4 separate regions of the Homo sapiens genome follow, and regions 1, 2 and 3 are each linked to region 4. Evidence: promoter capture Hi-C in 16 types of primary human blood cells and fetal thymus (Javierre and others, 2016). All regions are on one chromosome and are shown on one strand. Each heading gives the region's core, a stretch centred on a gene start or on the middle of the fragment in contact. The rest is flanking DNA. Distances are from core to core; before and after follow the strand shown. Region 1 overlaps GALC (galactosylceramidase). Region 2 has its middle 8.1 kb from the start of HISLA. Region 3 overlaps ZC3H14 (zinc finger CCCH-type containing 14). Region 4 holds the start of GTF2A1 (general transcription factor IIA subunit 1).

Region 1 (2,700 bases), core at 6-2,505, 6.8 Mb before region 4:
AATGTTTCTTGAAAATGTTAAGGTTGAACTCGGATTTTTGGGGTTGAGTTGGATGGAGCTTGCATCCTTACATTCAACTCAGAACAAGCTTGAATGCCTGCTGCAAGGATGACCTGGTCTGTAGTGTGACCACAAGATATAACCTTCTGCTAGGGGAAATTTTTTTCCCCCTGGAGTTAGCTGATCCTTTTTGATTTTTATGTTTTCATTCCCTAATTTGCAATCTCTCCAGCCGTGCTGATGTGTATTTCAGGGGAAACCTGTGGGCCGATGAGTTAATGCATTTATTCTTTGCTACTACTATTCTCCTTTTTATGTTTTTGGGCTAAACCTGAAACAGCCAATATTTCATGGAGTGAGGCCCCATCTTTTTTATAGCTTTACTTGTGATACTATATCTAGGGTAAGAGCTTACCGAAAAATGGAAGTCTTTGTTTCCATTAGGTTTATTAAGCCCAGTTTAAAATTACTAAGATGAGAAGAATCATTTCGTAATTCAAAGTAGGAAACTCCTACCTAATCTGATAGAATATACAATTATTAGTATCCCTATATAGTTCATTACTCCTCATAGGAACTCACTAAATAATGAAAATTCTTGCAACATTATATTTGCATACCACTTTAAACTTCTTTGTGGAGTCCTTGGTTCCTAGCCCAGGTTGTGCCAGTAAGTGTTTAGAGTGCTGTCATTTAATCTTCATGTCAGAGAGGGAAAGCGGTATGGTACAGTAAGTAGTTAAGAATGTAGGGCCGGGCACGGTGGCTCACGCCTGTAATCCCAGCACTTCGGGCTTCCGAGGCGGGCGGATCACGAGGTCAGGAGATCAAGACTATCCTGGCTAACACGGTGAAACCCCGTCTCTACTAAAAATACAAAAAATTAGCCAGTCTTGGTAGCACGCGCCTGTAGTCCCAGCTACTCGGGAGGCTGAGGCAGGAGAATCGCTTGAACCCGGGAGGCGGAGGTTGCAGTGAGCCGGGATCACACCACTGCACTCCAGCCTGGGCGACAGAGTGAGACTCCGTTCAAAACACAAACAAACAAAAAAACCCAAAAACCAAACCAAAGCGAAACAAAACAAAAAGAATGTAGACTAAAGAGAAGATTGCCAAGAGTGTCTTCTGGGTTCTGCCACTTCACTGTGTGGCCTTGGTGGGTTATCTATTATAACTCCTCTCTGCCTCACTTTCTTTTTTTGGGATACAGTTATACCTGCATGGTAGGAGCGCCGTGAGGATAGACCTAAAGTACTTAGGATGATGTCTTGCACATTACTAATTTTGGTTAATAACCATTTTCAGGGATTAGGGAGGAGGAAGTTATTTCAAGGCCACTGAATGATGAAATGTCCCCAAGGCTTTTTCCTGGGCCTGTAAACAGTTCCAGGCCTCATTCAGGCAGTGTGGTTAGTAATCCCGTGATTTGCTATTGCTAGATGGTGCATTTTAACATTTGGTTATATTGCCTTTGACTTATGCTGTTGTGTTAGGTGTGGCTATAGGTTTGCAATAACATGATTGGTGTGTTTGCCTAAAGCCGATACTTTCTCTGTTAAATGTGGGAGTGCATAGAGGGCAAAAGAAACCCTAGACAGCAAAACGCACAGTATTAATGGCGTAGCGTAGGACAGGAAGCATTGTTTACCTAGGGTCAAGGATATATTAGTGTGCCTATACAGTGTTCATTTAAAGAGTGCCTATTTTAATATTGGAGCCTCTGCTAGGTTGTAAGCTCTTTGAGAAATATGTATTTTAAAAAATTTGTGTATATAACACTTGCCTTTATTGAGAACTTACTATGTGCCAGGTAATGTGCCAAGTCCTTTACATACATCTAATTTTAGTCTTACAGCAGTTGAATGAGTAAGATAGCCCACTTTACAATAATTTGCCTATGATTACATAGCTTATTAATGATGAAATCAGGATACAAACTCCATTTGACTCAAAGACTCCTATTTATGTTGCCAGTACCAGTGCAACAAAAGACCCATAAAATATTTAATAAGTGTTTATTGAATAACAAAGAATGAGGATACAAACTTGAATAAGATACAGTCCATGTCCTTAAGGAACTAAGAGGTGAGTCAGAAAAATAAAGGAGTGCCGGGGTTCAAAGTGTTGTAATAAAGATATGGACCTGGTGCCAAAGGAGAGGCGCTTACATCAAATCAGTGAGCAGGGCCAGAAGGCATCCTTCCTTCAAATTCCAGAGGTGGAATTTGAGCTGAAAGGTGAATTGGAGTTGTCCAAGAGAGGATGTGGGGTGCATTCCAGGCATAAGAATAGAAAACGTTGTTTGATACATCTAGGTAGAAGGTGTGAGAGTGATAAGGGATAAAGTATCAGGGTTAGGAGCCAAATAATTAAGGGATTTGGGTGCAAAATTGAGCGATTTGAACTTTATCCTGAAAGCTTTTGGGAAAGGGACGGTCTTAGCATGTTTACATGGAAGAGTTTCGTGATTACATTTGTATTTTGGGAAGGTTACTCTCGTAAGTAGCATGGAAGATAGAATACAGGGAGAGGCAGAAGGGATGTCCTGAGACCACTTATACTGTTCTCATAAGTGAGGAGGGCCTGGGTAAGTCAGTGGGGTTGAAGAGTAGAGGAGGGATTTGAGAGCTATTGAGGATATCTTGGTGACTGAGGGTACATGGGAAGTTTGGACAAAAGGTGGCCCAAGTTTATGGTTTC
Region 2 (2,851 bases), core at 281-2,780, 6.8 Mb before region 4:
CAGGCTTTTTCATTTCCCTGAATAATAGAAGCTTCGTTTACATCATGATTGGTTCTCACTACCCCCTGGCATAGAGAAAACTCCAATTTTAAGTCAGCCAGGCCTACTTCTTGATATGAGATGGGAGCCTAAGAGGTTTAAAAAGTTCTTTTATTTCCCCATAGTGTCTGGCTTTTGAGACTCCACTCACTAGTGACTCACAAACAATGCTGACTTGCTTTTTCTAGCTAAAGTTTACCCTTTTCCTGAAGCATAAAACACACTGTTTCTGTGTGTAGGCCCCACAGGGCAGCAGTGTTTTCTGGATTTGAAAAATTTAACAGAAAAGCTCTCAAAAAATTGTATTATTTTATCTGTCTTTTGTGGCAGTTTATTGAAAGCTATAAGAGGAAGCCAAAAACCACCAACATTTTGAATTTTTCCTTCCAAAGTCTTGATTCCAGACCCTTGGTGGACATTATCTGAGTCTCGGGATATAGCAGGAAATAGTTTAACCAGAGATTTTGCTACCACTTAACATGGGTTACTAACATCACAAGCTAGCTCTATCTTGGCATTGCCTTCTCCACTGCAGCTCTTCAGCTCTGCCTATTCAACAGTCTGGAGTCTGTAACATCACCCTCACTTCCATGTTCCAAATTCCATTAGGATCCTTCAGGATTCAAGGAACAAAAATACCAGATTCACATTAAAATAATAAGGAAGTGTATTTGGTTCATGTACCTGCAATATTCAAGACTCTCTGTATCTTTAGGACACAGCTCCAGTGTTGTGTGATTCCCTGAGCTCTCCTTTTTCCCATGCATTGGCTATTTCATGTTAACAAAATGGCCACAAGGATTCCAGGCATCTCATTCACATACCACCACATCCAGATTAAAAGAAAGAGTCTTTGTCCCAGAATCTAAGCAAGTTCGGTCACATGCCCACCACTGAACCAATCACTGTGGCTTTGATTGACTTATTTAGGTACTACGTGCTCCATTGCTAAAGCCAAGAACCATGTAGGTCTGGATGTCAGGCATTCCTAAAAAGAGGCAGCTCTGAAGTGTCAGCTGAAACATTATGAGATGTTACATTTAGAATGGAGAGTTGATTTCTCATAAAGGGTTACAGCCTGCAGAGTGGTCATTTTGACAGGCTGGGAAACGTAGCCTCTGGTAGAAGCCAGAAGGCAGGTACATTGAGGGAGGGGAGGATGGAACAGGGATTTATGCTGAACAGGTTAGCCAAGTATAAATATTTAGCAGGTTATAAGAGTAGCTATAAATATTCATGAAGGGTGTCCTAACGCGTGTGCACTGAATAAACATGCATGTTGCATGTTCACTTTTGTGTGGAGACTTAACATATAAATGCATTACAATTAGGCCTTGTATGTCAAAAGGTGAAGCAGAGACACAGAGGCATTCAAGTGCGCAGCCTCTGTAAACCAGCCAGAACCAGTCCATGGTTGGTGGTCTTTCATCAAGAGAAAGTTACCAAAATCAACCTCTTGTCACATCAGAGCTGTAGTGATGGCTTGTGGAACAGAGGGGTGAAATCAGGCTGCATCTGGCAATTGGTGAGCTGTAATTGTTTCAATATTTCTTATCTCGAGGCCAGTGCTTGTTTAGCTGCTAGAGAAAAAGAAAAATCTTGTGGCAGGTGGAACATAGTTTATTCTTTAAGTACGGGGGTATGTGACTTAACTCTTGCTTGGCGTGACCTTAGGTCTTGTTTACAATTTAGTATCTTATAGCCATAAAGAGTCCATTTTGTCAGTCTTATGATCTCCATTTTAACATTAACACTGGTCAGTTGTTGTGTCTAAGTTGTAAAACAGAGTGGGTGCAATGAGGTGTGTACAAGCTCCCATTCTGTCATGGCTAGGAACTCAGTTTTTAAGGTTTCTCTGGGGTCCCCCAGCCAAGAGGGGTCTTTTCAGTCAGTTGGGGGGCTTAGAATTTTAGGATTTTATTTTTAGTTCGCATGAGGATATACGACATTTTGAAGGAAACTCTACCTGATGCACAAGAATCTGGGCCATTAACTGGCTCCTATCAGGTCCTGCCCTGTGCCCCAAGAGATTCAGGGAGGCCGTAAAGGAATCAAGCAACCACTAAAAGGTTAGGCAATATTACCATCACTGGTGACTATAAATCAAAGACCCCTTTCATTTTCTTAGCATCATGTAAACCTCCCGATTCTGGTGTAAACCAAAAAGGGGAAGACAATCCCATAATGCCTGAGATGGAATTTCCTATAGCTTGGTGGTATGTGGGCTGGGATTTACAATTAAGCTGATAAAGAAAATGTAACAATGTTTTCTCGCAGCACTGATTCCATGAACAGAGATTCATGCCACTGTGTAGTCTGCAACAAAAGTAAGTCAACTGATGAACAGCTTACTAAAAATTTAAGGAAGGGATATCCTAAAAACATTTCTCATGAGCAAGGAATGATAGCTGGAAATTAACATGACAATTCTTGTTACTACTAATTTAAGATGAATAAAATGTCATTTGCTAATGTTTGTTCCTACTATTTTAGTTCAGCAAATGTAAAAATTATTAATAACAGCTTTCCTAAAGGGAGACTCTTTCTCTTTAACCTTACTTTCCCATATAATCTTAAAATTTTCCACCAGGAATACAAATAGCCCTAAAGGTTTTAGGAACTGAATCCTGAGGTTAGGACAAACTGTAAAACTGCAGCATTTTTAGTTTGTTTGATTAATTAACTTATTATTTATTTATCCAACAAACAATTGTGATTACCAGTGAGAATACCCTTAAAATTGTCCTTTCTGGAGATCAGAACAAGAATTGTTTCTAAATTTTCAATCGAGGTTTCCAAGTTAAATTTTTTG
Region 3 (2,755 bases), core at 85-2,584, 7.3 Mb before region 4:
AAGCTGGCCAGGTGCAGTGGCTCATACCTATAACCCCAAGACTTCTGAAGGCCAAGGCAGGAGGACTGCTTGAGCCCAGGAGTTCAAGAGCATCCAGGGCAACATACTAAGACCCTGTCTGAACAAAAAATTTAAAAATTAGTCAGGCATGGGAGTTCAGGAAGGAGGGGACTGCAATGGGATGATCACTTGAAACCAGGAGATCGAGGCTGCAGCGAGCCATGATTGTACCACTGTGCTCCAGCCTGGTGACAGAGCAAGACCCTGTCTCAAAAAAAAAGATATAGAAGTTTACAAAAGAAACATATTAAGTATAGCCGACATATACTAAGAATTCCTTAGGAAAATGCTAGGGACACCTATAAGTACTTTACACATATTAGCCCATTTGATCCTCAATAATAATTTTATAAAGCAAGTGGCTGTACTATTTCCATTTTATAGCTAGAGAAACCAAGGCAAGACACAGCCAGGATTCAACTTTGGCTGTCTGGCTTCAGAGGCTGATAAGGTTTGGCTCTGTGTCCCCACCCAAATCTTATATTGAATTGTAATCCCCACCTGTCAAGGGAGGGAGGTGACTGGGTCATGGGGGTGGTTTCCCCCATGATGTTCTCATGATAGTGAGTTCTCAAGAGACAGTGAGTTCCCGAGTTCTCAAGAGACAGTGAGTTCTCACAAGATCTGATGATTTTATATAAGTCTCTGGAAGTTCCTCCTTCACTCTTCTCTTTCCTGTCGACTTGTGAAGAAGGTGCTTGCTTCCCCTTCCTGGGGCCTCCCCAGCCATGTGGAACTCTGAGTCAATTAAACCTCTTTCTTTTAGAAATTACCCAGTCTCGGGTATTTCTTCATAGCACTGTGAAAATGGACTAATACAGAGGCTGTGCTCTCATCACTCACAAACTGCCTCTCCAAAGTAAACCTAACTCAAGTGTCAAGAACCTCTCTTTGGACAGAATATCAACTCAGGCTTGTGCCAAACTTTGGTCTGAGGCACAAAAATTCAGAAACATACCATACGGTGAATCGAATTGTGTTGTTCCCTAGAAACAGGGACAGATCCTCTGTCATTTGGTCCTGACTTTTCTTGTTGGCCACCATCACCATAATGTAATCAGGAAGTTCTTCATCTATTTAAAAGGAAAGGTAGATCAAAACTTTGTTTCCTCAAAACTTTCTTCTTAAAGTTGATGTGCTTGAAAATATAGATGTAGCTCTAAGCTTTAGAGTCGCAGAGCTCTACTGGAATTACATTGGACAAGATGGCTTAGCTTTAATTTTTTTCTCTTCATTCCACAGGTATTTCAAATACTAGAAGAATGGAAATTAAGAATAATTGATACTTACAAAACTAAACATTCTGAATTATAGGGTCAAACTTGAGCATGCATTCACTTCCTTGAATCTTTTTAATAATGCTTATTAATTTCAAAGAAGCTTATGGGAAATATTTGAACATTCCCCAAGAAAAAGAATTGAGTTTTGTTTAGTTTTAATTTGCAAAGTTTCAAAATAACACTCATTTCTCAAGTGAACATCTTTACCCTTGCTAAAGGCAGGTTTCAATTACTCACAGTAACAAACTTGTAGCAACATCGAATAAACAAATAGACCCAAAAGCTCCACATCATTTAAAAAAATCAATTTTAACATTAAATAATGTCAACTCAATGCACGGTTTTACCCTCACAGTGGTAATCCTACAATGATTATAAGGGTGAGGTCTAGGATAAAAAAAAAAAAAAAAGAAAAAAGGCCAGGCGCGGTGGCTCATGCCTGTAATCCCAGCACTTTGGGAGGCCAAGGTGGGCAGATCACAAGGTTAGGAGATTGAGACCATCCTGGCTAACACAGTGAAACCCTGTCTCTACTAAAAATACAAAAAATTAGCCGGGTGTGGTGGTGAGCGCCTATAGTCTCAGCTACTCGGGAGGCCGAGGCAGGAGAATGGTGTGAACCCAGGAGGCGGAGCTTGCAGTGCGCTCAGATCCTGCCACTGCACTCCAGCCTGGGCAACAGAGCAAGACTCTGTCTCAAAAAAAAATAAATAAATAAAATAAATAAAAGAAGCCAAAAAACACCCTCCTAGTGGTAATCCTACAGTGATTATGAGAGTGAGGTCTAGGATTTAAAAGAACAAAAAAACAAAAACCTCACTAAGAAGATAAGGAAGCAAAAGCTGTTATCAGGAACTCTAATCTCTGACCCTCAAAACTCCATTCCAGTTCTCTTTTTTTTTTTTTTCTTTTACGACAGAGTCTTGCTCTGTCTCCCAGGTTGGAGTGTAGTGGCACAATCTCGGCTCACTGCAAGCTCTGCTTCCTGGGTTCAAGCGATTCTCCTGCCTCAGCCTCCCGAGTAGCTGGGATTACAGGCACCTGCCACCACACCCAGCTAATGTTTGTATTTTTAGTAGACACCAGGTTTCAGCATGTTGACTAGGCTGGTCTCGAACTCCTGACCTCAAGTGATCCACCCACCTCGGCCTCCCAAAGTGCTGTGATTACAGGCGTGAACCACCATGCTGTGACAAATTTCTTTAATACCTTAAATACTTGTAATATTTCTATGCAGGCAGAAAGGTTCATTTCAGAAGTACTTTTTTTGTTTCAAAGAAAACTATAAAAAATGCAGTTCAAGTGTTGAAAGAATAAAAGAATAAATAAATCTTGGTTCAGCTTTATTTTCTCTGAGCCTCAATTCTCTCATCTGTTAGTCTTCCAACAATCCTGACAACAAATCGTTTATGAAA
Region 4 (2,700 bases), core at 13-2,512:
GCAAGATGCATTTTTTTTCCTCTTTGGTAAGACGCCTTTGATATTCTTCAAATCTGGTTTCACCAGCACAGAACTTTGACGTTTCGTTTTGCTTTGTCTCTGGAAGACAAACTCCCTCACTCATCCACGCGACATTTCAAGTCCCTCAAAATTCCCAGGGACAAGAAAACTAGGTACTATGAATTCTGCCTTCCAAACAGCATTCTCTGTTCTGCTTGCAAGGTCGATATAAAGGCAGGATTTGCTTGGGCAGAACAAGTCAAAAGCTTATTGAATTGCACTTATTGAATTGAACATGGAACACAGCCGGCTTGCTCTCTTATAGCGAGAGGCCATGCGAGTTGGTGGGTCAAGGGCATGCATTTCAAAGTGATCAGTCACTATACGTTGGCCACATGGAGTCGCAGTATTTTGGCAATATTTTTAAAAACCAGGGAAAGTTACTGTGCTGTTACAATCCAAAGGCTGGTGGGGTTTTCTTCCACCCCGCATTTCCACTAGCGTGATAAATTATTTAAAGTACGTGGCCTAGTAGAGGACTAACCTCTGGGTAACATAAGCCTAGTCTTCGCAGCGTACCCACTGTGGAAACAAACGAATCAGACGTTACTAATTGTGGAATGTTAAAAGTAGGCCCCGATCGGCTTTTACTCCCTTTGGAAAATCCTACACAATTCTGCGCGCGAAAGACCCACCCTCGGTGAGGCGGTGAGGCGCGAACGCCGCGAAGCTCACAGTCAAAGCCTCGCTGACAAATCAAGAGATGACTCCGCATTTAAAACCTTCCCGAATAGGAACGCGCCAGAGGCCGGAAGCCACGCCACGTGACCAGTCCTCCTCCGCGGCCATTCCTAGCGAGGCAGTAGGCACCGCCTCTGTCACATTTCCTAGCTCCTAAAGCGCGGGACCAGGCGGAAACGTGCGACAGGAGGCGGTCCCACCTAGCTTTGGACTGGAGTGTCAGTAGAACTCCCGTCTTTTCCAGCAACGCTTTGCAAGTTCTTCACCGCAAAGAACTGCCGCAGACTTCCGCCTGGGTGCCAACCACGTGATCACGCGAGCGTTGGAGAGGCGTAGGTCCGATTTCACTACTTCACTCCCCGGGCTCCGCCAGTCCAGTACCCGCCACGGCGCGTGACAACGCGGCTCGCCGGCGGCCTCCGCCCCGGCGCGCCTGCGCACGCGGCTCTCGCGGTGTCTCGCGCTCAGCCCCGCCCACCTCTGCCCCCGCCCTTTCCGCCCCTCCCTCCCCCTTCACCCTGTCTCTCGGCGGCGGCGGCGGCGGCGGTGGTGGCTCGCGCAGCTTGTTGGCTCGCTATATAAAGGAGAGAAGCGGGCGGACCGGACGGCTGGAGCTGCAGCCGGTGGCGGCAGCGGCGGCGCAGGGAGCGGTGACCGGTGGTGGTTTCCCTCCTTGGCGCGGGGTGGGGAGCGGGCAACGCCCCCCGGACCCCTGAAGGGTCGTGGCTTTTTTTTTTTTTTTAAGGCGATTCTCGAGGTTTTCAGCTGCGGGAGGAGTGCCCCCCTCCTCCTCCTCTCTCCGCTCTCCCCTACTCCTTCAGGATTGATTTTGTTTAAAATTTTTTCCCCAATCTTGCGGTGATTTGGGTCACCCTCCGGGTGTTATAGTTTTTTTTTTTTTGGTTTTGTTTTTATCTTGTTTTCTTGGGGTTGCCCCCTCTTGTTTGTGTTGTGTGTGGAAATGGCGAACTCGGCAAATACAAACACCGTGGTAAGGACGTGGTTCGGTGGCCGGCGGGGGCTTCGTTCAGGCTGCAGCAACGGCCGGACCGGGCGGGGGCGGGGACGGCGGCGACTCCCGGCCTCGACTCTTCAGCCGCCCGCGCGGCCGCCGCCGCCGCCGCTTCCCGCCTCGGGCGGATCGGGCCGGAGCGCCGGGCGGCGGGCGCGGGGGGGCGCCGAGGGCTCGCGGCGCGGGGAGGGCGGGGGCGCCGGTGGGGCCTGGGGCCGCCGCGGGCCGGGCCGGGCCGCGGAGGCGGTTGGGCCCGGTCGGGCGCGCAGCCCCGGCCCCAGAACCCGGCCGCCGGGAGGGAGGGCGGGAGGGGAGCCGCCGCTTCCCCCCGAGGGGCCCGTCCGCGCTGGCTTGACGAGGGCTCCCCGAGTGGCTACAGAACAAAAACTGTGTGTGGGGAATCGGGCGAACCCCCGAGACCCATCGTGATCCACTTTAATGCAGTGGAAGATTAATGGTTACTTTGGGGGTTTCTTAGGTTGTTTTTGGCGGCTGTGCTTTGGGAACCTTCTCTGAGGCCATTTTATGTTTAAAAAAAGGACGAAGGTTGGTTGAAAAGCACTTATCTCAGTTCCTTCCGAATGGGTAAAATGGCGAAGGGGAAGACCCCCATCGTATCTTCGCCTAGCAGAAGCACCAAAACAAACAAAAAAAGCCTGCAGTGGTCCAAGTGTCCCCGCTTTCGCCTTGAAATTTACCTACTTCTTCCCGTTGGTCCCTTTTTGTTACTTGCGATCACGTAGGTTTGCAAAAAGCAGTCACATAAATAACCTTTTCAGTCACCAACGCAGTGTGATCACTAGTCCACCCAACTCTTATTTTTATGATGACAATAAAACACGTTTTTTGCCCGGTCCCAAATGCCGCAGACCAGCCCGCGGCCGCCCGACACCGTACCGTTGGCGACTCGGGTCTAACCATCATGGCTGCGGCCGCTTACCCTGCTT

The links. Contacts are between HindIII fragments. The CHiCAGO score rates a contact against its expected background, and 5 or more counts as called.
Region 1: a contact is called between a fragment that was not itself captured here and the fragment with the promoter of GTF2A1 in region 4, in 6 of 17 cell types (total B cells, activated CD4 T cells, naive B cells and 3 more). The highest score is 11.1, in total B cells.
Region 2: a fragment that was not itself captured here is called in contact with the fragment with the promoter of GTF2A1 in region 4 in 4 of 17 cell types (activated CD4 T cells, total CD4 T cells, non-activated CD4 T cells and 1 more); the score reaches 13.9 in activated CD4 T cells.
Region 3: a contact is called between a fragment that was not itself captured here and the fragment with the promoter of GTF2A1 in region 4, in 1 of 17 cell types (total B cells). The highest score is 7.5, in total B cells.

Annotation. Positions count from the first base shown.
Region 1 is chr14:87,989,553-87,992,252 of GRCh38, reverse strand. All of the region lies in intron 1 of GALC (galactosylceramidase), which reads left to right. Among named protein-coding and RNA genes, the nearest start is that of GALC, 2.3 kb to the left of the region's middle. The HindIII fragment of the contact is 2,330 bases long and covers 91-2,420 here.
Region 2 is chr14:88,015,032-88,017,882 of GRCh38, reverse strand. No RefSeq gene overlaps it. Among named protein-coding and RNA genes, the nearest start is that of HISLA, 8.1 kb to the left of the region's middle. The HindIII fragment of the contact is 2,994 bases long and covers 34-2,851 here.
Region 3 is chr14:88,566,417-88,569,171 of GRCh38, reverse strand. It overlaps ZC3H14 (zinc finger CCCH-type containing 14), which reads right to left. Exons shown (of 17, transcript NM_024824.5): 3 at 1,019-1,133. Among named protein-coding and RNA genes, the nearest start is that of ZC3H14, 4.8 kb to the right of the region's middle. The HindIII fragment of the contact is 216 bases long and covers 1,227-1,442 here.
Region 4 is chr14:81,219,521-81,222,220 of GRCh38, reverse strand. It overlaps GTF2A1 (general transcription factor IIA subunit 1), which reads left to right and starts at 1,262. Exons shown (of 9, transcript NM_015859.4): 1 at 1,262-1,732. The coding sequence starts at 1,703. It overlaps GTF2A1-AS1 (GTF2A1 antisense RNA 1), which reads right to left and starts at 1,003. Exons shown (of 2, transcript NR_135252.1): 1 at 696-1,003; 2 at 1-582. RefSeq lists silencers at 1,098-1,397, 1,428-1,477, 2,008-2,127 and enhancers at 2,468-2,557, 2,598-2,667, 2,540-2,700. The HindIII fragment of the contact is 3,079 bases long and covers 269-2,700 here.